Linked DNA regions of Homo sapiens: regions 1, 2, 3 and 4 are each linked to region 5. The links are contacts of gene promoters, found by promoter capture Hi-C in blood cells and fetal thymus (Javierre and others, 2016). All regions are on one chromosome and are shown on one strand. Each heading gives the region's core, a stretch centred on a gene start or on the middle of the fragment in contact. The rest is flanking DNA. Distances are from core to core; before and after follow the strand shown. Region 1 holds the start of RPL21 (ribosomal protein L21). Region 2 holds the start of USP12 (ubiquitin specific peptidase 12). Region 3 overlaps LNX2 (ligand of numb-protein X 2). Region 4 overlaps MTIF3 (mitochondrial translational initiation factor 3). Region 5 holds the start of POMP (proteasome maturation protein).

The links. Contacts are between HindIII fragments. The CHiCAGO score rates a contact against its expected background, and 5 or more counts as called.
Region 1: the fragment with the promoter of RPL21 here is called in contact with the fragment with the promoter of POMP in region 5 in 3 of 17 cell types (fetal thymus, naive CD4 T cells and neutrophils); the score reaches 10.1 in fetal thymus.
Region 2: the fragment with the promoter of USP12 here is called in contact with the fragment with the promoter of POMP in region 5 in 7 of 17 cell types (total CD8 T cells, total B cells, non-activated CD4 T cells and 4 more); the score reaches 8.8 in total CD8 T cells.
Region 3: a fragment that was not itself captured here is called in contact with the fragment with the promoter of POMP in region 5 in 2 of 17 cell types (naive CD4 T cells and naive CD8 T cells); the score reaches 5.9 in naive CD4 T cells.
Region 4: a fragment that was not itself captured here is called in contact with the fragment with the promoter of POMP in region 5 in 1 of 17 cell types (naive CD8 T cells); the score reaches 5.1 in naive CD8 T cells.

Annotation. Positions count from the first base shown.
Region 1 is chr13:27,250,207-27,252,906 of GRCh38, forward strand. RPL21 (ribosomal protein L21) reads left to right here and starts at 1,352. Exons shown (of 6, transcript NM_000982.4): 1 at 1,352-1,379. RefSeq lists enhancers at 656-1,855, 674-1,259, 1,067-1,606, 1,260-1,845. The HindIII fragment of the contact is 8,409 bases long and covers 1-2,700 here.
Region 2 is chr13:27,170,488-27,173,187 of GRCh38, forward strand. USP12 (ubiquitin specific peptidase 12) reads right to left here and starts at 1,324. Exons shown (of 9, transcript NM_182488.4): 1 at 1,105-1,324. The coding sequence starts at 1,152. It overlaps USP12-DT (USP12 divergent transcript), which reads left to right and starts at 1,772. Exons shown (of 2, transcript NR_046548.1): 1 at 1,772-1,885. RefSeq lists enhancers at 301-410, 1,911-2,100 and silencers at 651-700, 731-800, 871-960, 1,021-1,070, 1,211-1,850. The HindIII fragment of the contact is 5,306 bases long and covers 1-2,380 here.
Region 3 is chr13:27,617,081-27,619,780 of GRCh38, forward strand. The region is part of intron 1 of LNX2 (ligand of numb-protein X 2); the gene reads right to left. Among named protein-coding and RNA genes, the nearest start is that of LNX2, 2.1 kb to the right of the region's middle. The HindIII fragment of the contact is 1,587 bases long and covers 591-2,177 here.
Region 4 is chr13:27,445,304-27,448,003 of GRCh38, forward strand. The region is part of intron 1 of MTIF3 (mitochondrial translational initiation factor 3); the gene reads right to left. Among named protein-coding and RNA genes, the nearest start is that of MTIF3, 3.9 kb to the right of the region's middle. The HindIII fragment of the contact is 4,271 bases long and covers 1-2,700 here.
Region 5 is chr13:28,657,652-28,660,467 of GRCh38, forward strand. POMP (proteasome maturation protein) reads left to right here and starts at 1,479. Exons shown (of 6, transcript NM_015932.6): 1 at 1,479-1,536. The coding sequence starts at 1,534. RefSeq lists an enhancer at 972-1,131 and a silencer at 1,352-1,411. The HindIII fragment of the contact is 5,788 bases long and covers 1-2,816 here.

The DNA.
Region 1 (2,700 bases), core at 102-2,601, 1.4 Mb before region 5:
TCCTCAAAACTCTCAAGGTCACCAAAAGTAAGGAAAGTTTGAGAAACTGCCACAGCCACAAGAGGCATATAAGGAGACATCATAACTAAATGTAATGTGGTATTCTGGATGGAATCCTGGAACAGAAAAAGGGTATTAGGTAAAACCGAAGGAAATCTGAATAAAATGTGAACCTTAGTTAATAACAGTGTAAAATATTGGTTCATTAATTGCAACAAATGTACCATATTAGCATGAGATGTTAATAATAGGGGAAACTGGATGCTGGGTATATGGCATTATCTCAATTTAAATAAACTACATTAAGAAAATAATATCTATTTTTAAAGGTGTAGTGAATAAAACAATGGCCACCCATATATTTAACACCCGGTTTAATAATGGTCAATACAGTTAAAGCCTCCCTTTATTGTCCCCTCCTTACCAGATATGACTGCTTTTCTCAACTTGATTTTCATTCTCTTGTATTTCTTGACTTCTTTAACTACATATGTATGCATAACTAAGCAATATATAGCATTGTTTTACAAGTTTTAGAGTTGAATGTATATGAATTGTCATACTATTTATTTTTCTACATCTTTCTCTTTTTGCCTCATCACATTTCTGAGTTCAGTCTTCTTTTATTGGCGTATAATACTACATCCTAACATCCCATAAGGTATTTATTCTGTTATTGATGGACGTTTCTAATTTTTTGCTTCTACCCACAGCGCTGTTACGTACATCCTTGTTCACTTACCAAAGTTTCTACAAGACATATAGGTAGGAGCAGAGTGCTGGGGTTTAGTAATTGAAAACTTTTACTAGATTTTGCCACATTGCTTTCCCAAAGAGGTTTTAACATTTGCGCACCTACTAGCAGGTGCGTATGTTTAGACGTGTGGAGGAGAAACTATTTAAAGACATACAAACTAGATAATATACTTGCTTCATTCTCGTTTGACCTTCGTACCCAAGCAATTATTTCTGCAAACAAACAAATAAACAACTACTAATAGCACTTCCCGCACCGCCAGCCGCAGTTTTCCCTGCGGAGACGCGGATACAAGGCAGCTTCCGGCGAAGGCGGTGACGCAAAGGATGGCGTAAGCACGCTCGGGACGACGGCGTCCTCTTGATCGCCCTTGAAGGCCCCTTTCCGGGCTGTCTGACACGATGCAAGTGTCAGCTTGTGTTGGCCGGTTGCCTTTCTTTCGCAAGAGGGGAAAATATCCTCACAGACTTTCTGTGTTCTCAGAGACGATCTTCTTCCCTAGAAAGAAGTCGCTTACGGTTGGCGTTTCCCTCAGGCAGCGCCGTGGGCAGCCCACAGGCCCTTGTAAGGCGCGCGCCGCGGCCCCGCCTCTTTCCTTTCGGCCGGAACCGCCATCTTCCAGGTAGGGCCTACGCGTGGCTCCCGGGCGCTAGGTGTTCGACAGACTTGAACCGCGACCTTGTGGCCTCAGAGGTCGTTCATTGGGACCGTGGGGAGACTCTCTAACCTGTTTGAGGTCCATTGGCATGGGCGGGTTAAACCATGTTCTGCCAGACGGGGAGCAGCGTGCGCCGGGTCGGGTCTGGGCCGTGGGCTGAGAACCGGACTGCGATGTTGCGGCCCTGCGGGGGGACATTTGCGAGAAAGACGAGACTGAGTCGCTTGGGGTGAGGCGACTCGAGTTAATCTTTAAAAGACTTCGTTTTATGTTCCCGTGGCTGCATCTCCGGTACTGTGGGTGGCCCCTCTCACATAGGCTGTGTGGGGGCCGCGTGGCCTGATGCCTTTCTAACTCCTTTCAGTGTGGCTTTTTTATTCCAAATCTTGCGATGATGTTGGGTGAGGACTTAAGGGGTAGTAGGAATGGGTTTAAAGTCAGGCGTCGGCTTTAATCTTCTGTGAAGCCTACAGGTGTGAAAACCCGGGCTCTCGGTCGGAGAGTGGGTCCCGGAGTCGTCCTGGGTGATGAACCCTCACTGCCCTTAGTTAATGCATAAGACGATTTCCGACTGTTTTTAAAATTTTGACCCCACATGGTGATCGGACGAAGGGAAAGTGTTTTGAGGTTGCAACACCAATATTTGCACCAAGAGGAGATACTGTTTTGCGAATTCTAGGGCAGCATGCTTTGAGTGAAGGGAAACATTTAGCCATAGTTCATCATTTTGTCTAGTTTGTGGACGTCAACAGAGTCGAGCAAACTGCAGGTTGCTCTTTATGGTGGATCCTAGTTGCCATGATTTTAATACTCTTACAAACTGTAAAGCATCGTTTTGAAAAGTGCCTTCAGTTTTAAGTGTATGGGGTCCATGCTTAAAATGGATTCCAAACTCAGAAAGATGGATCTAGTGGAGGATTATGGGCTCTGGAATCAGGAATGAGTTAACTGATTATGCCACTTGGTGATTCCACAAAGTGACTTGAATCTACACAGTATCACCCTTTGTGTACTAACTTAGCACAAGTTTTTGGAACTTTATACACATCTAAAGGCTTTGGGGATTGGAACAGAGTACCTGGCATTTAAAGGGTTCATCCATTGTAACAATGGTTTGACTTTGGTGAGTTAGGTGAAACATGTCTTCTTGCTATACAATTTTTATAAAAATGGTACTTTGGGAGCCATTCTTAAAGGATTGTTGGTAAACTTAGAAACCAAATTGTGTTAGAATATTGTCAACACGTCAAGCCTGACTGCTGTATTTTACCTTATGGTAGGAGTA
Region 2 (2,700 bases), core at 74-2,573, 1.5 Mb before region 5:
CTTTTTTCGGTGATGACTCATAAATTATGATCCCTACATATAAGCTCATGAGGAACTAATGAAACGAATTTGTCTCATCATGTGGAAAACTGTGGTCCTTCTGGCCACGCACAAAACACCAAGTTTTAAACGCGCCCACGTTTTGCTTAATTCGGGACTTCCAGCGGGCATTAGCACTTTTCCCTTACAGTCTATTTAAACGCCCTAGGAAAACAAATACCATCGCCTTGGCAGGCGGTCCCCGCACAGACAGACCTAGCTCCAGCCACATACAGATGTGTCTGGTGGGCTGAAGTAAACAAATGACAGGAAAGCTAATGCTGCTTTTCAAGATTAACGTGCATTCCCAGAGACAAGACTGCCACCTGGACACACGGCTGGAAACGGGAGAGCTCGTGCCTCTCAGAGGAGAAAATGGAGAGAATTTCAACAGTACTTATTTAAAGTTTCCACCTTCACACACGCCCCTTTCCCCCAGCGCGGGGTCGGGGACTCGGCCCAGCCAGCGGCGCGAGGAAATCTGCACTTGACTTCCGTCCTCTCCCAGGCGGGAATGAGCGCTGCCCGCCCCGGCCGAGACCCTTCCTTCCTGCCCGCCGACCCCCACCCCTCCCGGGGACCCCTCCCGCTCGGCGCGCGACCAGAAGGAAATGGAGCCCGCGCGGCTCCGCGCCCCCTCCCCGACGACCCCGGCCCGGGGCCGCGCTCTGGCTCGCGCGCGCCCACCCCTCACCCCGGCACAGGCCGGGCGCGCCTCGGCCCTCGTCCCCGCGTCCCGAGCGGACCCCAGCAGTTCAGCCGGGGACTCCCGGAGGCCGGTGCCCGCCCGACGCCGCGTCTGGCACGGTCGCCCACTCACCGCTACCCTCGCGCCGCCCTGGCCCACCAGGCGGCGCCCCCTCCCCAGCCGCCTGGGCCGCTCACCCCCGCGCTCCCCGCCTGCGCGCCGTCCAACCGCCCCCGCCCGGGCCGCCCGGGCCGCCCAGCCCGCCCGCCCGCCCCGGCGCTAGGCCCCGCGAGCGGCCACTGGGAGAGGCGGGTCCAGCGCCGCCCGCCCGCCCGAGAGGTCCCGGCAGCCCCGGCCGCCCGCTCGCCGCCACCTACCATGGTACAGATGGAGGCGAATTTGGAGACTGTCATTAGGATTTCCATCCGGCCAGCGCCATCTTCCACCCAATCACAGCGGCGGCGGCGGGCGGGGGAGGAGGGGAGCCGGGCCGCCCGCTCGCACCGCAGCCCGCGGGCGGACCCCGAGCCGCCGCGGACCCAACCACCGAGCCCGCTGGGCCGCCGCTGCCGTCGTCGCCGCCGGCGCTCAGGCACTCCCGGCCTCGGGCCCCAGCCCCCGCCTGCCGGCCGCCGGCCCGCCCCCGGCTCCGCCCCGGCGCAGGGCGCAGCCGCTGCCTCCGGGCCCGCGCCTGCACGCGAAGCCGCCCTCCGCCCACCCCGCCCAGCGCACAGGGGAGCGGGCTCCGCCGAGGCCCTAATGCCCGGCCTGCCAGGCAGCGGCGCGGCCAGGCGGCGCAGCCCCGCCCACCCCTCGGCAACCCCTCCGCGGCCCTTGTGCGCGAGCCGGGGAACTCCGGTCCGTCCCCACCCCGCGCGCGGCAGAGGGCAGGACCGAAGGCGGGCGCCACCTCCTGCCCGCGTCCCTGCGGTCCTAGAGCCGGGGACCCAGAGACCCCCGCGTAGGAAGGGGTGCGGCGGGGAGGCGCGGGGGTGGCGGCGGCGATCTGGGAGAACCCTGGAGGGGACCAGCTGCGACACCCACCGCGGGCGAGGGGACGGCGAGCCCCCGCTGCCTAAACAGAAAACGGAGGCGATGATCTGGGTAACTACGGGCGGAGTGGGAGGAAACCTGCTCTGCACAGTTAAGATAACCCGGGTATGCGTCCCAAGCACTTGGTTTGTTTCTTTTTACGTATATTGGATGAATCACCGGAGTCAAACACAACTTAGAAAAAGACAAAATAATTAAACAAAAATGAAGAGGCAAAGAACAAATTACACATGTTTAACTCTTTGAATTAAGAAGAAAGATAAGTAATGGGGGAAGGAGAGGAGCGAAACCTGTTGGCCTGTTGGCGATAAATTTATAATAGGCTTCTAAATATCTGCACATTGAGCTGCAAAATAGGGAGGATCTCAAGCCAGCAGTGATGATGATATTACCAGAGACAGGAAGCCCGCAAGCAAGAAAAATGCCCTGTGAGAAATCCTTAGGCAGTGCTGGCTACTGGCATGGGTAGTTCCTCTTTCTCCTTTTATAAAATTCATATTTGCACCCTGTTCTTCATGCCTGGCAGCTCAGCTTTATTTTTTCCTATTTGAGAAAGTAGTTCAAGTGAGTAGAATAACTTCATAAATTATTATGTTAGAAAGCTTGTGATATTTTCTGATTGAACTCGTGATGGGGTACTTTTCTGGGTTCCCCTAATTCAGTGGGGTTGAGGATCTGAATTCAGGCAGAGCTGTAAAATCAGAAATGCCTCACCTCAAGGGTTCAAAGCACTCAAAAACAAAAAGCATTCAAACAAAATTTAAGTGAAAAATAGACTTCTGGTACATGAATACTGTTTCCATAGTGATTCCATTATAAGCTTGCTTGGGGGGGGAATGCAGATTGAATATAGCCAAGCCCCATGGTAGCCGGACTGGATCTCCAAGCGCCTGCCTCCATGGAAGCCAAGAGCCCTGATA
Region 3 (2,700 bases), core at 134-2,633, 1.0 Mb before region 5:
AATACACAAAATAGCCACCTTTTCTGAATCCAACCAAACAAAATAACTTATTAACCACAGATTTTCCTACTGCTTTGTATTTTCTGAGGAAAAGAAACAGGTGCCAGGAAAGCTAAAAGGGATGTCTTTTGTAAGACTCTCAGGCCCTCCTACAGGGTCAATTTAGGTAGGCCTGCCCCAGTCTTCTAATTCTACATGCAAGATACATATGTATTACTTTTTCAAACAACACTGCTTCCTAAATAGAGGAGAACCTATGAAATGAGACCTGTGATTCTTTTTTAAAAACCTAGATGCATTTGGATAGAGGAAGGTGGGCCTGTGAACTCTAGCCCTGTAAGCAGGAAGGAAAGTTAAATAGTTCCTCATAATACAATTTAAAGATATCGGGTGGCAATTGTAAAGGAAAGAAAGAAGAGGGGAAGAAGGCCAAAGAGCCAACCAGATTACAAGAGCCTGGAGTCCTCCTTTCTTTGATGGTGGCCAAAATATATTTTAAGGATAGAAATGCCTAATATTCAATGTCAACACTTCTGATATCGCTCCACTGTGAACCCCTTCACCCTCCCCTTCCTCTAAATCTCTCATAAAGCTTACCATACTCATAAAGCCTTTCTGTGAACTCTTTTTCTTTTCTATTCTTTCCTAGCTCCTGTGAGACACAACTATCCAACAACTGCATCATGGATCTCTCAACCATCCATTTAGCACCTCCTTAGATTAGTCCAAAACTGAACTTATCTTCCCTTCTACACCTCTACCATCAATTGTTTTTAACTGCTCCTTCTCATATCCTCCAACATTCCACTAGCTCATTAATGTCATCATCTAAAGGAACAACTAATATTTACTGAGCACTTGGAATGTGCTAGGTACCCTGCCAAAGGCATTACATGCATAATTCCTCAAACCCTACTCAACAGGTACGACAATCATTTCCCAAATGTTAGGAAATCAAAGTTCTGTCAGGATAGTTATTCTAAGGGTAAGTAATAGAATTAGAATTTGACCCGTTTTAATTTCACAGCCAGCTTACCCAGTACATGTCAATCAATGCCTGAAGTCAAACAACCCAGGATTCATCCTTCCCTCCTTAAGCCTACCCAGTCACTTACCTAGTCCAGCCTCCTAGTCATACCTCTTAAACACCACGTCATTTCTCCTTCCACTGCCAGCACACTAGCATTTACTAAGTCCTTACTATCTGGCAATCACTATTCTAAGTAATAGACATGTTTTTTCAAGTTCTATCCCCCAAACTCTGAGATGACAAACCTAAGGAACAAAGAGGTTTCAGTGTATGACAGAGCCTGATTCCACCCCAGGTAATCTGAATAGAGAATCCCTGAGCACTTAACCCCTCCATTAGAACAGCCTCCAACTTAGTCTCCATATCGCCCATCTGGAAGCCCACCATCCTCCAGACGCTGCAGATATCTTTCTGGAATGCTTACCCGTTATCATGACATTCTCCTGCTTAAAATTAGCAGCTCAGTATCACTGACTGGATAAAGTCCAAATTTCTTAATCTGGTATAAAAAATCCTTCATTTTTCTGTTCAAGTCAATTCAGTAAATATTTTAGTGCCCAATGTAAGCAAGAAAAGGTGCCAAGTGTTCTGAAATGAATAATACATGTCCCTGACTACTACCTCCACCTCGGACACTGGGTCCTTCGGCCAGACAAGCCCATATGCAAAGCTCGTAATACAACAGCCCAAAGACACATACATTTATTTTTAAGTGGCCTGCGTGCTACGTGCCTACAATGTACGAAATCCCAAACCAATCTGAAGACTAAGTGCCTACGTAACACCTATTCTTACAGGTCTCCAGGCAGAAATGCTCCCTAAGTTCAAATTACTTCAGGGTAACTAGTGGGATAAAGGCATGGATCAGTTTCCAAATGAGAAAACTGGGCAAGAAGCAACCCCCGCCATCAATGGCTGGCATGCAGTAGGTACTTTATCAGTGGCTAAATGAATAAATAATGAAAAAATTTCAAAGTTGATGAGAGAAACAAGATATATGGAGAATGTAACACACAAGTGGGCCGAATTAAAAGTGATGTTATTCTACTTTGGTTCTCATTTGGCCTACTTTTACCCCATGGGAAAACTCACATGTGGGACTCGGACAAGCTAAAAAGCCAAAACTTTGTTATTCATGGCTCAACAAAGCTTTGACAAGCCAAAAAGGATACCAGATTCCCGCTTCCTTCTTTACCTGCCAAAGTCCATTTTCTAAAGAGGTGTGGGGGTGGGAATCAAATCTAGCAAAGTAAATAAAATTGATCTACTGAGATCCAACTTCATTAGTGCTGCATCGAAGTACATGCAAAAGAAATATCAAAACCTGTCCTGGGAAGAAGGCCAATTTACAAGTAAGTACTATTGCCGCAAGAATGTGAAATTCTTAAAGGCAGTTCCAATAAGCTGGAGCTCACAAGTGTTCCTCCTCCTGCACCGCCACCGCTTTTCACTCAACTTTGTTTCTGATTTCTGTGATTTTAAAAAGCATAATATACACAGCAAAGCCCATGCATAAGTGTACTTTAGCTCCTGGTACAAACGAACGTCTGGATTCATAAACTTAACGTAAACTGAAATACTAAAAGAAACACTACATGAGTCAAAAGTCCTTGTTTAAAACGTGGCATACAGCTTTGAAAAGCGAGTGATGTATTTCCTGAATGATGCTT
Region 4 (2,700 bases), core at 19-2,518, 1.2 Mb before region 5:
ACCCAGTCTCTACAAAAAATAAATTAGCCAGGTGTGTTGACACGCAACTGTACTCCCAGCTACTGGGGAGGCTGAGGAAGGAGGTTCACTTGAGCCCAGGAGGTTGAGGCTGCAGTGAGCTCTGATCACACCACTGCACTCCAGTCTGGACAACAGAGCAAGACCCTGTTTCAAAAAAAAAAAAAGAAAATCACCATTTTTCCAACCCCAACGAAACTACTGATTCAGGCAGGATGCAAGAGAGCTGATGCCAAAGGGTCACAAACAGATTACTTTCAGACTGAGAGGGAAAAGCACACTCTGCTGAGGGTAGACAGCTGTCTGTCATCCTAAGCCAACGTCAGACTCAGCATCTCCAACAGTGGAACAACCTGCCATCCTTGCCACATCTCTGGATGGGAAGCTACCCAAAGTGCATGGCACCTTCTATTAAGCAGCTTTGCCAAAAAGGTTTGACCTGAACCTGATGCAGGGTCTAGCTTCCAGTTTCCAGGGGATACAAGGGCCAGACTCAGAGAAACAATAGAAGATGCCACAAGGAAACAATCTGACAAATCCAGATGGAACAAGACACCTGGTTAGTGTCTAAAAAAGCCAATGCCATTGGGAATGAAAAGGGAAGAGGGAAGCTATTCTTGAGTGAAAAAAAAAATCAAGGAGACATAATTTTGCTGAAAAGAAATGTTGGGAATGAGGGGAAAATCTGAATAGGGACTAGGTATTAGATACTATTAGAGACGTATTGTTAATTTTCTTTTTTCTTTTTTTTTTGAGACAGGTTCTCACTCTGTCACCCAGACTGGAGTGCAGTGGGGCAATCTCGGCTCACTGCAACCTCCGCCTCCCAGGTTCAAGTGATTCTCCTGCTTCAGCCTCCCAAGTAGCCGGGATTACAGGTGTGCACCACTACCGCCTGGCTAATTTTTGTATTTTTAGTAGAGATGGGGTTTTACCATGTTGGCCAGGCTGGTCTCGATCTCCTGACCTCAAATGATCCACCTGCCTTGGCCTCCTGAAGTGTTGGGATTACGGGCGTGAGCCACGGCACCCGCCTGTTAATTTTCTTAGGTGTGAAAATGGAATTCTTAAGAAACAAATGCTGAAGTATTTAGGATAGTGTCATGACATCTATCACTTGCTTTGAAACCATACAGCAGAAAATATAAACAATGCACTTACGGCAGCATTTGCTAAATCTAGGTTATGGTTATACGGGTGTTCAATAATTAATACATTTTTAAAGAACAAATCAATAGCCTAGAGGGAGGAATGGTTCACTGGTAATGCCAATGTAACTATTCTAGTCTGTGTAAGTTCTAAATTTCACTGTAATTTAATACATTGACATTCTGGCTTTGTACATAATTTTAAAAAATATTCCCTTTATTCGTTTCAAGCCTATATCTAAGTGACCCATAAATAAGGAACTTTATAAACTTAAAATTCTGATTTTTTTGTAATGCATAGTGCCTTTATTTCTTCATTTAGTTTTCCTTAAACTCAGGTCTAAAAGTCTCATCATAAATGGTGATGGGGGCGGATGGGAAGGAGGCTGGCATAAAAAAAGTACACATTAGGTACAATGTATACGATTCGGGTGATGGTGCACTAAAATCTCAGAATTCACCACTATATAATTCGTCCATGTAATGAAAAACCACTTGCAGTCCAAAAGCTACTGAAATAAAAATTTTAGAAGAATAAAACAAATGGTGATGGTTTCAGTTTGAGGCAGAACTTGTACAATTTTTTGCTAGTGAACGGTTAAAAGTTAACTGGTCTACAATGGGGTGGTGTTTCTCAGAAACCACGGCCTGTCGGCATCACCTGGGGATGCTTTTCAAAACACAGATGTTTCCTCTTCCCTATCCTGTTCAGAACCAGTGGGTTAGGCCAAAAAAAAAAAAAAAAAGATGAACTTTAAGAAAAAGAGTAAGAAAACACTATAAGTGGGGTCAAGGGTAGTTTGAGCTAGGATGCCTGAGACTACCCCTAACCTTTCAAAGTTGAATAAAAATAGGAAGCCATGTTCTCTGATGAAAATCTCTGATGCCTCTGTGAGGTAAACAACACTAGGCTGAAGAGGCCAGGAGACTAACTCAAAATAGAAACAAACGCTTACGTTCTTATGATAATCCTGTTGCATTTGCTGCACTCACTCCCACAACTATACTCTCCGAGACAGCCACAATATTCTAAAAACCAATTATCTTAATGTCAATTACTTATAATGCATAACTTTATAGTATGATATCCATTTTTAATTCGATGATTACTCAGACTTTATCTGAGTTTTGACAAGTGCATATACCTTTGTAACCAAAACTCCTATCGACAGAACATCACCATTATCCCAGGAAGTTCCCTCTTGCCATTTCCAAGTCAATCTCCATCCCCAAGAGGCAACTATTGTTCTGATTTTTTCCCATCAGTCTGTCCTAAGACTTCATATAAATGGAACCAAACAATATCTACTCTTTGTTGTAAGACATCTCAGCATGTTTCGAGATTCATTCACGTTGTACGGATCATTACCTTGTTCCTTTTTATTTCTAAGAAGTGTCCTCCAAGTATATGAATATATCGCAGTTTTTAAATCTAGTTTTCGTTAATGAACACCTAGGCTGTTCCCTTTATTTATTTATTTATTTTTGGCTCTTATGAATAGCTGCTGTGAACATTCTTGTACCAAAAAAAAGA
Region 5 (2,816 bases), core at 229-2,728:
GTGGAATTGACGGAAAGAAAAAAAGATGCAAACGAAACACTCCAACTCAAATCTCAGGATTAAACATGGCTATTGTGAAGGACCAGAAGACACCTAAAGGACAGCATGGCAGAACACATAACATCTGGAACTTCAAAGTTGTATGACCATGGCAGTGGATATACATAACATATATGGCCTTATCATTTTCCTCTCTCAAATCCTTCGATGGCTTTTTAAAGACAAAGCCTCATCCTTAATCTTGCCTACAAAGGCTGCATAAAAAACCTGTAGCTAGGTCCCATGATGCACGCCTGTAGTTCCCATTACTCAGCCGGCTGCAGCAGGAGAATCGCTTGAGCCCAGGAGTTCAACGCAGACCTGGGCAACATAGCTAAACCCTATCATTATTTAGAACAAACAAACAAAAACAACAACAAAAACCACTTGCCTCCATCTACTTACAACCTCATCTCACAGTACTCTCCACTTTACTTTCTGAACTTTAGCCAGACTTAGGCCTTCTTTCCAGTTCCGTTTTTGCACAAGCAGATCTGCACGTAATGTTGTTTTAAATATCCTACTACCCCAAACTAGTTCGCTCTTATCTTTTAGCTGTCAGTCCAAAGATTCCCTAAGATGTCTCCATCCTGTGGCAGCAGACTATAAGGCCGTTTTATTACATTATATTTGAACAATACAGAATAGTGTAATGAGCATGGATTCTAGACTCATAAATATGTCCTTAGGCATATTTATTTAAGCCCTTCATGTCTCGGTTTCTTCACCTGTAAATTGTACTTGTAAGGTTATTGAAAAGATTAAAAGAGATAAAGGATGTAAGCACTTAGAACTGTGTTGATAACGCAATTCAAAGGGCCCAACATATGTCGGTCATGATCACATTTACTTAATTTGTAGTCACTATCGTCCCCTCTCTCCCCTCTAGCCTCCGGAGTACCCCTGCTCCTCTAGCCCAGAGGCCACACCGGCCTGGTCCTTTTTTGTATTCCTAGCCTCAGCACAGGGTTCGGAACATACCAGGCCTTCAATATTATGTTTTTTAAAAATGACAAAAGCCTTGTGTCCCAATTTTGCTTTATTAGCCGAACGATCTCAAGCAAATCACTCAAACCACCTACGCCTCGTTTACCCTTCTGTGAAATGTAATAGCTACCTCAGAGAGGTTTTGTGTTAAATAAGGCGATGTACCTACAAAAGCACACTGCACATCTTAAAATGCCGTACAAACCGTAGATGTTTATTAATAAACCGGAGTCCGTGTCTTCCCTCCCCTCAGGCACGTCTCGTCCCGACCCCTCCCTCCTCCCAGCCCACACCCTTACTGCGCCCTTGGCCCTGGGTCCCTTGGGATTGCAAGCGTGGGAGCCTCGGCCCCGCGCAGCTCCCTCCGGCGTCCCGCGCCCTCCTTCCTTCCTCGCCAGGACGGACGCACTTCCGGCGGATGTGGGGGCCAGCCCTCGGAAACGGAAGTGAGCGGCGGGGTCGACTGACGGTAACGGGGCAGAGAGGCTGTTCGCAGAGCTGCGGAAGATGGTGAGTGGGTACCCGGGCGGCTGGAGTTCCACGCGGGCTCGGGACCGTGGCTCGGCAGAAACAGGCAGTCGCCTCCCAACCCGTCCCCGGTGGCGGCGGCGGCGGCAGCGTGGGGCTGAGGCCGGCCTCAGGCGCCATAATCTGTCGAGTCACGGGGTTTGGGTGGGTCGTGACTGTCGCCGGGGCCCGGCACTAGTCCCACTAGCAGTGCTTCGGCTTCATCCTGCTCCTCTTAGCTCGGTTTGCGCCCTTCCATCCCTTAGACCCCAGCAGGCCCAGACCTCCTCCCCTTACTTGGCGCAGAAGTGGAAAAGGCAGCCGTGAAAGTGCAACGTTCTGTGGGGTGGCGCTGGCGACCCTTTCCTTGACGGGTAACCTCTGGGAGCCCAGAGCTCTCAGACTCCTCATCTCCCCCAGCCCCCGCCCTTGTAACTGCCTAGTAAACAGCCCACAACTATAGGTCGCATTTGTGTAACGCAGCTTTGCTCTACAAACTTTTTTGAGAGCTTGTAGTGTGCTAGATGTTAGAGGGGAAAAAATCAGACAGTTGCTATTCCCTGTTTGCCAGTATTGTTAGTATATCTCCTCCCTCCTTCTCCTCCCCACCACTTTCTCTTTCTTTTTAACTTAGAAGTTGTGGTATTTGAGAAGAACACTGAGTCACCATTGCCACAGACTCTGATATCGGTACTGCTGGTAGGCCATCCATCCAAATCTAGAAAGTTTCTATTGGTAAATACTGCTAATCGTTATCTAAAAAGTTTTTTAGGCACTCTCAAATGTAACTAGTAGTTAGGTTTTCGTAGATTTGCCTTTCTCGGCTCCTTCCTTTATTAGAAACAGCAAGTACTAATCTTGATATTTTACAGAAGGAAATTGGGAAAAATGACAATAACAGAATCCAGAAGTCAGAATTCACCTTTTCTTTGTGCGTTGAAACCTTGTTACTTTACAATAAAGCAGTCCAGAAGGAGGAGAATGTTCATATAGGGAAGTAATAGAAGATACATTTGGAAAGCAACAATCACACATCTCTGCTGAAGGTCCCCAACTTCTGGTGGTTCAACAATCTTCTGACTTTATGATGGTGTGAAATCCATACACAGTCAGTAGAGGCCATATTTGAGTACCAATACAGCCATTCTGTTTTTCACTTTCAGTACAGTATTCAATAAATTACATGAGATACCCAGTACTTTTTAATAAAGTAGGCTTTGTATTAGATGATTTTGGCCGACTGTAGGCTAGTGTAAGTGTTCTGAGCACATTTAAGGTAGGCT